Linked DNA regions of Homo sapiens: region 1 is linked to region 2. The links are contacts of gene promoters, found by promoter capture Hi-C in human tissues and cell types (Jung and others, 2019). All regions are on one chromosome and are shown on one strand. Each heading gives the region's core, a stretch centred on a gene start or on the middle of the fragment in contact. The rest is flanking DNA. Distances are from core to core; before and after follow the strand shown.

What was found. Contacts are between HindIII fragments. The study calls those that stand out against the background at their distance.
Region 1: a fragment that was not itself captured here is called in contact with the fragment with the promoter of COA4 in region 2 in 7 of the 25 tissues and cell types used here (adrenal gland, bladder, hippocampus and 4 more).

The regions. Positions count from the first base shown.
Region 1 is chr11:73,803,222-73,808,104 of GRCh38, reverse strand. It overlaps MRPL48 (mitochondrial ribosomal protein L48), which reads right to left. Exons shown (of 8, transcript NM_016055.6): 2 at 3,026-3,078. Among named protein-coding and RNA genes, the nearest start is that of MRPL48, 18 kb to the right of the region's middle. The HindIII fragment of the contact is 3,695 bases long and covers 1,556-4,883 here.
Region 2 is chr11:73,873,160-73,878,195 of GRCh38, reverse strand. It overlaps COA4 (cytochrome c oxidase assembly factor 4 homolog), which reads left to right and starts at 1,350. Exons shown (of 2, transcript NM_016565.3): 1 at 1,350-1,439; 2 at 4,802-5,036. The coding sequence starts at 4,818. It overlaps PAAF1 (proteasomal ATPase associated factor 1), which reads right to left and starts at 1,197. Exons shown (of 12, transcript NM_025155.3): 1 at 1,128-1,197. The coding sequence starts at 1,174. RefSeq lists enhancers at 960-1,029, 1,050-1,099. The HindIII fragment of the contact is 11,350 bases long and covers 1-5,036 here.

The DNA of each region.
Region 1 (4,883 bases), core at 2,154-4,653, 72 kb after region 2:
ATCCATGGTCTAGTTGGGAAAGGTGCTGGTAAACGAATGTGAGCCACAATATAGTATTGATCCAGAACAGAAACATACAAAATTAAATAGGACACAAAGGAAAGTATGGTCACTCCTACTAGGGAGGTGAAACTATTTTGAGGTGAGTTTTAAAAAACGAAGAAGTGGCCGGGCGCAGCGGCTCACGCCTGTAATCCCAGCACTTTGGGAGGCCGAGGCAGGCAGATGACCTGAGGTCAAGAGTTCGAGACTAGCCTGCCCAATATGGCGAAACCCCGTCTCTACTAAAAATACAAAAAATTACCCGGGTTTGGTGGTGGGCACCTGTAATCCCAGCTAATCGGGAGGCTGAGGCAGGAGAATCACCTGAACTTGGGAGGCGGAGGTTGCAGTAAGCCAAGATCGTGCCACTGCACTCCAGCCTGGGCAACAAGAGCGAAACTCCATCTCAAAAAAAAAAAAAAAAAAAAAAAGATAATAATACTACAATCTAATGGGACTGAAAATGTATCTTAAACTCTGAGTCAGTTTCCTCTTTTGCAAAATGATATTTATATTTGCCTTGTAGTGTTTTTTGTGAAGATTAGAGATAACGAAAAATAGCTAGTATGGTGCCATAGGAGGTGCTTATCAAATAGTAGTTGACTGATTAAGATGGGATAATAGATTAAGATGGAACGGGATACTATCACATTTGGGATTAAGAAAAAAAAAAAGAAGATGGAAGGGAAATAAAGGGAGAAAGCCCTCAATAAATGTTAAGGACTCAAGAAATCATCCAGGATCATGAGTGCCGAGTAGTTCGGGAAGATGTACAATACATTATTTTATATCCTGTGGCTGTCACACAAAAGACACTTGGTGCATATTTGCTGCTGAACAGAGAAATAAACCACCAAATGTATTTCATCACACTTAGAGAAAAACAATGGGGAGCCTGGGCACGGTGGCTCATGCCTGTAATACCAGCACTTTGGGAGGCTGAGGAGCATGGATCACTTGAGGTCAGGAGTTCGAAACTAGCCAGGTCAACATGGTGAAACCCCATCTCTACTAAAAATAGAAAAATTAGCCAGACATGGTGGTGGGCGCCTGTAACCCCAGCTACTCAGGAGGCTGAGGCAGGAGGATTGCTTGAACCTGGATGGTAGAGGTTGCAGTGAACTGAGATAGTGCCACTGCACTCCAGCCTGGGTGAAAGAGATTCTGTCTCAAAAAAATAAAGAAAAAAGAAAAACAATGGAGAGCAATCTATACACAGAACAGTTTAAAAAAAAAAAGACAACTTGGATTTGAATCCTAATTCCAACCCAAATTAGCTCCATCATATTAAAACAACAGATTAAACTCTCTGGACCCCAGTTATTTATATAAAATTGAGATAATATCATCTGTTTTACCAGGTCACTATGAAGGTCAATTCATTCATTTAACAAATATTTATTAAATGCCTACTATGTGTCAGATACCATCGTAGGCCTAGGAATAGGGCAGTATCCCCATGATGCTTATTTTTAAGGGGCAAGGAAAGACAGTTAAACATTTTTATATATAAAAAATGAGTCAGATGGTGACATCTGCTATAAAGAAAAAGCAAAGTATAAAGGAACAGAGATTGATGGAGGGGTGTATATTTTACATAGAGTAGTCAGGGAAGGCCTCTTGGATGGGATGACATTTGGACAGAAACCTGAAAAAAGTATAGGACAAACCATATGGATATCTGAGGAAAGAATATGCACAGATCCTGGGGTGGGAAGGTGCTTAGATTATCAAGGAATAGCAAACCACAGCACAGCTAATGCTGAGTAAGTAGTATAAAATGAGGATACAGATTATGGAAGGTCCTATAGGCCATGGTAAAGATTGCAGGTTTTAGTTTGAGTAAGATGGGATACCACTGGAGAATTTGGAGCAAAGGAGTGATGTGAGCTAACTTGGCTTTAAAAGAATCATTCTTATGTTCATAATGTTAGGTCTCTTTAAAAAAAAAAATCACTCTGCTTTACTGTGAAGAACAGAAGACAAAGGTAAACTAGGGAGACCAGTTGGGAGGCAAAGTGATGGTAGTAAAGGCAATGAGAAAATAAGGAGCTGGCCCCTAGTGGTTTAGCATAACAGAAAGCATGAGGCAAAAACTGGAGAAAGAAATGGTTCTAGGTCTGGCACAGTGGCTCATGCCTGTAATCCCCTCACTTTGGGCAGATCACTTGAGCCCAGGAGTTCAAGACCAGCCTGGGCAACATGGCAAAACCCTGTCTCCACAAAAAATACAAAAACGAATGGGGCATGCTAGTACATGCCTGTAGTCCCAGCTACTTGGGAGGCTGAGGTAGAAGAACCACTTGAGCATGGGAGGTCAAGGCTACAGTGAGCTGTGATCATGCCACTGCACTCCAGCCTGGGCAACAGAGGTAGACTCTGCCTCAATTAAAAAAAAAAAAAAAAAGGTTCTGTTTATATTTCAAAAGTAAAGCCAACAAGTTTTGTTGAAGAATTAACAGCATCTGGCTGGACGCGGGGGCCCACACCTGTAATTCCAGCAATTTGGGAGGCCGAGGCAGGCAGATCACCTGAGGTCTGGAGTTCAAGACCAGCCTGGCCAACATGGTGAAACCCCATCTCTACAAAAATACAAAAATTAGCTGGGCATGGTGGCAGGTGCATGTAATGCCAGCTACTTGGGAGGCTGAGGTGGGAGAATCATTTGAACCTGGGAGGTAGAGGTTGCAGTGAGCCAAGATCACGCCACTGCACTCCAGCCTGGGTGACAGAGTGAAACTCCATCTCAAAAAGAAAAAAAAAAAAAAAGAACAGCATCAAAGATTAACTGCAAGTATTTTGGCCTCAGCAACTAGATGAATGGAGATGCTATTAACTGAGAATGGGGAAGGAGCAAGGTGGCAGGGGAGATGCATGATGTGCTTATAGACATGCAAGTAAATATGATGAAAAAATGCTGTGTGAACTATGAAGCCAAAGGCAAATGTTACCTATATTTAATTATTGTTTTTAATATTCTTACCTTAAGAGAGAAAAGGCTTGCTTAAAAATGGTATTGTTCCTCAGGCACAGCACCTACAGCAAAACAGCCATGTTAGGACAATCTTAAGCATTTATAGACCTCCAAGTATGTCTTCTCAGAGAGGCAAGAAACCCACAGTACACAAACCAGAAAAGGACAAAAAGGCTCTTATCTAACAAAGAAGCTACCCTACAATTAACACCAAGCATGCAAACAAACCAAGGTCATCATTCTCATTCCACCCACTACAGTAAATGCTCAAAAAACAGAAGTCCCCCTCCCACACTGCTTTTTCACTGTTTACCATTTCCAACTTAATCTATTTTTTTCTAATATCAATCAATAATTAGTATGCATCTGCCATGCACAGCATCATGAGAGGGGCTTTATTAAATCTTCTTTAATTCTGAAAACACTGCAAGACAATTTCGTAAGTAAAGCAACTGAGACCCAGAGAGGTTATATTCCAAAAAATTATACCTAATAAGCTGCTAAGAGGACTGACTTAATGGCCAGGTGCGGTGGCTCATGCCTGTAATCCCAGCACTTTGGGAGGCTGAGGCGGGCAGATCACGAGGTCAGGAGTTCAAGACCAACCTGACCAACATGGTATTGTCTCTACTAAAATTACAAAAATTAGCCGGGCATGGTGGTGCATGCCTGTACTCCCAGCTACTCAGGAGTCTGAGACAGAAGAATCACTTGAACCCAGGAGGCGGAGGTTGCAGTGAGCAGAGATTGCGCCACTGCACTCCAGCCTGGGCCATAAAATGAGATTCCGTCTCAAAAAAAAAAGAGGACTGACTTACTACAAAAGCTATGCCTCTATTATAGTACACTGTCTCTCTCAATAACAGTGATAGGCTGGGCACGGTGGCTCATGCCTATAATCCCAGCACTTTGGGAGGCCAAGGTAGGTGGATCACGAGGTCAGGAGTTCAAGACCAGCCCGGCCAAGATTGTGAAACCACGTCTCTACTAAAAATACAAAAATTAACCAGGCATGGTGGCGGGCATATGTAATCCCAGCTACTCAGGAGGCTGAGGCAGGAGAATCCCTTGAACCCAGGAGGCGGAGGTTGCAGTGAGCCGAGATCTCGCCACTGCAGTCTAGCCTGGGCAACAGAGCAAGACTCTGTCTCAAAAAAAAATTAAAATATAAAAATAAAATTAAAAAATGACAGTGATAATGATACTTCACAATGGAGGTAAGAACAAAAAAACAAATATAATGATAGCAACTGCAGCCTCAATCTCCTGGACTCAAGCAATTCCCTTGCTTCAGTCTTCCAAACAAACGTCTGTTCTTTTGTTTGTTTGTTTGTTTTACGGGAAAGAAACAAAAAAAAAGTCTGTTCTTAAGGTCCCATAACATAAAGAGAAAATCCTGCCCACTATGGATAACAATTTTAATTCTTTCAACATGGATGTATGAAAAGTCTAGTATGCAAAAACAAGGAAAATCTGAGAAACTATCAGTCAAGAGGAGCCTACGGAAAAGACGACGATTAAATAAAATATAATATCCTGAATGGGATCTGCAACAGAAAAAGGACACTAGAGAAAAAGTAAGGAAATCTGAATAAAGTATGGACACTAGCTAATATACCAATATTGGCTCATTAATTATAAAAAAAAAAATCACTCTAGGCCAGGTGTGGGGGCTCACGCCTGTAATCCCAATACTTGAGGAGGCTGAGGCAGGCAGATCACTTGAGGCCAGGAGTTCAAGACCAGCCTGGCCAACATGGTGAAACCCCGTCTCTCCCAAAAATACAAAAATTAGCCAGGGGTGGTGGTGCGTGCCTGTAGTCCCAGCTACTTGGGAGGAGGCTGAGGCAGGAGAATCGCTTGAACC
Region 2 (5,036 bases), core at 101-2,600:
TATTGTTCTTTATTACTTATCACATTCTGTGTACTAGCAACTAGTCTGTATTTTAGCCCACCTAAATTAAGTAAGGTATAAATTTAGTAAGGTGTAAATTTCTTAAATGCAGAAGGCTATGTTTCATTCATCTTCACCATTGTTTCAATTTGAAAAACCCTTATTAGTAGTAGCAGTTGCCAAATATAGCACTGCTATATTCATCCTGAAGCCTAGAGAAATAACTGGAATAGTATAAGATCAATAAATGTTAGATGAATGAATAGTTTGCTGTGTATTCCTAATTAAGACGTCAGCTTTTCTTCTTTTTTGAGATGAGTATCGCTCTGTCACCCAGGCTGGAGTGCAGTGGTGCAATCTCGGCTCACTGCAACCTCCACCTCCTGGGTTCAACCGATTCTCCTGCCTCAGCCTCCCGAGTAGCTGGGATTATAGGCGCCCACCACCAAGCCCGACTAATTTCTGTATTTTTAGTAGAGACGGAGTTTCACCATGTTGGTCAGGCTGGTCTCGAACTTCTGACCTCAACTGATCCACCAATCTCAGTTTTCCAAAGTGCTGGGATTACAGGCATGAGCCACTGCGCCTGGCCTGGATGTCAGCTTCTTGAAGAGCAGGAACCATCACTTATATTTAGAGTATACATCTGAGCTCCACCAAGCATCCAGTATGGGGCCTGGACACAGTATTAGTTTCCTTAATAGTATCGTCCAGTATGCCTAATATAGCATTAGGGGCCTAGGAGAATACAAAGGTTCCATCACATACACAAAGTGGTGGTGAGTACAGAGACTTCTGGAAGTAACTGACGACTAATCAATATTTGCTAAATGACTGCTTGGCCAAAAGCCTTCCTGCCTCCCAGTATCCCTGTCTTTCTCCAACTCACTGATACTAGTTCTGACGCGGGGATCACACAGCTCATGTGCTCCCTTGGCCTAGGGATAGCTTTTCAGAGAATGACCATACGGGTTTGATACTTCTTTTTCCGGACCCTGTTCCCTCCATATCCCTCGACAATTGACGAAGTAACCCCTATTGATATCCTGGACCAGGCATGGCTCTCCTTGACGCAAAGCAACATCCACTACCCGCCTCCTCTGACTCTGTTCTGGGCCTGGATTCACCTGAGGGCTTGCGCCCAGTCGCTCTGAATCCTCAAAGGCGCCGCCATCTCGACCCCGCCTCCACCAGCCCACCTCTTCCGCCCCTTCCCGGAAGTGAGTCCCCGAGAAGCGTGCGGCGAGGACAGAGGTGGGCTCAACACCAAGAGGCCACCAATGAAAACGTGACTTTTTCACATTCCCCGCCCCTTCCGTGTGCACGCTCCCCACGAGGGGCTGGTTCCTGAAAGGATGTACAGAGGATCCCCAACCGCCTGCGAAACCCAAGCCGCCGCGTAGGAGCGTGCGTTCGGGCCCTCTTCTCCCACCTGTTCGGTGAGCATCGCGTACCGCGTTCTTCAGGAGGCGTTGCGGGCACAACGGGGCTGCGATCAGCGGCCGCGCGCGCGCATGCGTCCTCAAAGTTCAAAGTCCTCGATACGCCTGAGGCGCCTCAGGCCTCGTGGCTGCCAGCATTTTTCTGCTTTAAGATCCTTTCCATGACTTCCTTGTTTAGGCCAGCCTCCACGATCCAGCTGCCAACCATCTAGCCTACCCTGATCTCTGAGCAGGGGTCGTCGTCATTTTACTCCAGAGGAGACTGAAGCCAAAAGGTGGTGAGAGGAGAGTACAGCAGCATTTACTGAGTCCTATAGTAGCCCAAGCGCTTTTCATTCGTTATATTAATCTTCATTCTAATTGTGCGAATTAAATATTATTAATGGGAAAACTAAAATGAAAAAGATTACATAGTAAGGCGTAGTGCTGGGATTTGAACACGGATCTCTTGGTTTAGGATCAAGGCACTTTCTATTCCACTGTTCTTTCTCTAAATTATTTGCTCCTGGCCCTATTTAAAGAGTTAACAGTGTATTTAGGAAGAGAAAACTATCATTTATTGAACTCTTTAGACATACCAGCCTCCTTACAAACCTTACCTTTTTTTTTTTCTTTTTTTTTTTTTTTGAGACAGGGTCTCCCGCTGTAACCCAGGCTGGAATGCAGTGGCGTGATCACGGCTCACAGTGTTGCCCAGGCTGGGCGCAAACCATCCTCCCGCCTCAGCCTCCCAGTGTTGGGATTACAGGCGTGAGCCATGGCACCCGGCTTCATCTCTGTGCTTCCAGAGAGGTTATTAAATGATGTGTCCAAGGGCACCAAATGAGGCAGTGACAAAGCTAGGTCCAAGTCTGTTTCAAAGCCCATTTTCTCCCTCTTGCTTAAGTTATACCGCCTCCAAGGCAAATGAGTTGTGTAAAGTGCCTAACTCCCTCTTGTGATTCCCCATTGCCCTCAGAATAAAAAGTCTTAAACTCCCTACTATGTCCTACAAAGCCTTGTGATGATCACTTACTTATATCGCCAGTTTAATATTGTCTTATTCTCACACTGTATTCTCCCATCACTGAACTTTTTTTTTTTTTTGCTCTCATGTGTCAGATTCTATCTCAACCACCTGCTCTTCCATTGACCAAAAATAGTTTTCCCATCTCTGGCTAACTTCTGTTCCATCTGTCAAGTTTCAGCTTGGAAATCACTTCCTCTAGGAAGCCTTCCCTGCCTATTCCTGCCCTTGTCTGGATTAGGCATCCCTCCACTGTGGTCCCAGTCTTTGCTATCTGTACACTGTGTAGTAAACTGCCCTGTTTCCTTGTCTAGGTTGTAAACTCCATGAAGCCAGGAACTTAACTGACTTAGACAGTCTTGAATCCTCAGCACTAGCATAGTGCCTGGTACATGATAGGTACTTAATCATTTGTTGAGTGAATGAGAGACACAGTTAAGGCAATAAGGAGTCCTAGTTGCTTTACAGCCCATCATGGTGAAATTTTTGCAAAGGCTGAAGTCATTTCTCTTCAAACCTTAAGTTCCTTCTGTATGCTGCTTTCTGCTGAGTGTTCTGATGCAGACGGGCAAGACAGTTTGGGCAAATAAATACACCTCACATTTTTGTATAGTTTACAAAGCCATCTCACCTTATAGACCCAGAGGCCAGGTTTCTGCATACTGTATGCTACAGCCACAGTGAACTCTTTCCATCCTTCCCATGTGTCAAAACCTACCCATATTTGGGCACTCTTTCACTTTGTTTGTTTGTTTGTTTTGGAGATGGAGTCTCACTCTGTCACCCAGGCTGGAGTGCAGTGGCACGATCTTTGGCTCACTACAACCTCCGCCCCTTGGGTTAAAGCGATTCTCCTGCCTGAGCCTCCCGAGTAGCTGGGATTACAGGTGCCTGCCATCACGCCCGCCTAATTTTTGTATTTTTAGTAGAGACGGGGTTTCATCATCCCGGCCAGGCTGGTCTTGAACTTCTGACCTTATGATCCATCTGCCTCGGGCTCCCAAATTGCTGGGATTACATGTGTGAGCCACTGCACCCAGCCTCTTTCACTTTTTAAACTTTGTTCTTCAGCATAGAATAAGGCTAGTAGGATAAAAGAAGAAAGGTTATTTATTTGAAACAGGGTCTCACTATGTCACCTAAGCTGGAGTACAGTGGCACCATCATAGCTCACTGCAGCCTTTGAACTCCTGGGCTCAAAGGATTCTCCCTCTTCAGCCTCTTGAGTACCTGGGACTACAAGTGTGTGCCACTATGCCCAGCTAATTTTTACATTTTTTTTCTTTTTTCTTTTTTTTTGAGATGGAGTTTTGCTCTTATTGCCCAGGCTGGAGTGCAATGGTGTGATCTCGGCTCTCCGCAACCTCCGCCTCCCGAGTTCAACCTCGGCTCTCCTGCTTCAGCCTCCTGAGTAGCTGGCATTACAGGCATATGCCACCACACCTTGCTAATTTTGTATTTTTAGTAGAGACGGGTTTCTCCATGTTGGTCAGGCTGATCTTGATCTCCCGACCTCAGGTGATCCGACTGCCTCAGTCTCCCAAAGTGCTGGGATTATAGGCATGAGCCACCGTATCCAGCCATTTTTAAATTTTTTTGTAGAGATGAGGTCTTGCTATTACCCCTGCTGGTCTCAAATTCCTGGGCTCAAGGGATCTTCCTGCCTCAGCCTCCCATAATGCTAGGATTACAGGTGTGAGCCATCGTACCTAGCTGAAAGTTTAGTTCTTTTTAGGTAGATCAGAGATAGCTTATCTAAAAAGATGACATTTCACCTAATTCATATTCCAATAGCAAAATCCACTGAGCTTATTGAATGTTATGTCAAGCATTCTCACAGTTTATCTCATTCAGTTCAAACCACTTTTCAGGCCTGCTCTCAGCCAGGCCTAGTGCTGGGGGCACAAAGGTAAATCAAGACGAACATCAGCCGGGCACAGTTGGCTCACACCTGTAATCCCAGCATTTTGGGTGGCTAAGGCAGGAGGATCACTTGAGCCCAGGAGTTTGAGACCATGCTGAGCAACATGGAAAAACCTTGTCTCTATTAAAGAATCAAAAAAATTAGCTGAGTGGTGATGCACACCTGTAGTCCCAGCTACTCTGGCCAGGGAGGGACTGAGGGGGAAGGATTGCTTGATCCCTAAAGATGGAGGCTACAGTGAGCCTGGGCAACAAAGCAAGACACCCTCAAAAAAAAAAAAAAAAAAACAAGCATCTGTCTTCAAGCTTAGAGTCTCCCACGGGAGACAGACACATTAAACAGGCTAAATGGTGCAGTCTGGTCAGTGCTATTTATAATTTAGGAACCTTACATATTATATCCCTACTCTAACCTGTTAATGTTCTATAGACTCCCCATCCCCAGGATGTCAACCTCAGTCCCTCAAGGCCATACCTGGACCCAACGGGTGAAGAAAGACGATGAGGAGGAGGACCCGCTGGACCAGCTGATCTCCCGCTCTGGCTGTGCTGCCTCCCACTTTGCAGTGCAGGAGTGCATGGCCCAGCACCAGGACTGGCGGCAATGCCAGCCACAGGTGCAGGCGTTCAAGGATTGCATGAGTGAACAGCAGGCGAGGCGGCAA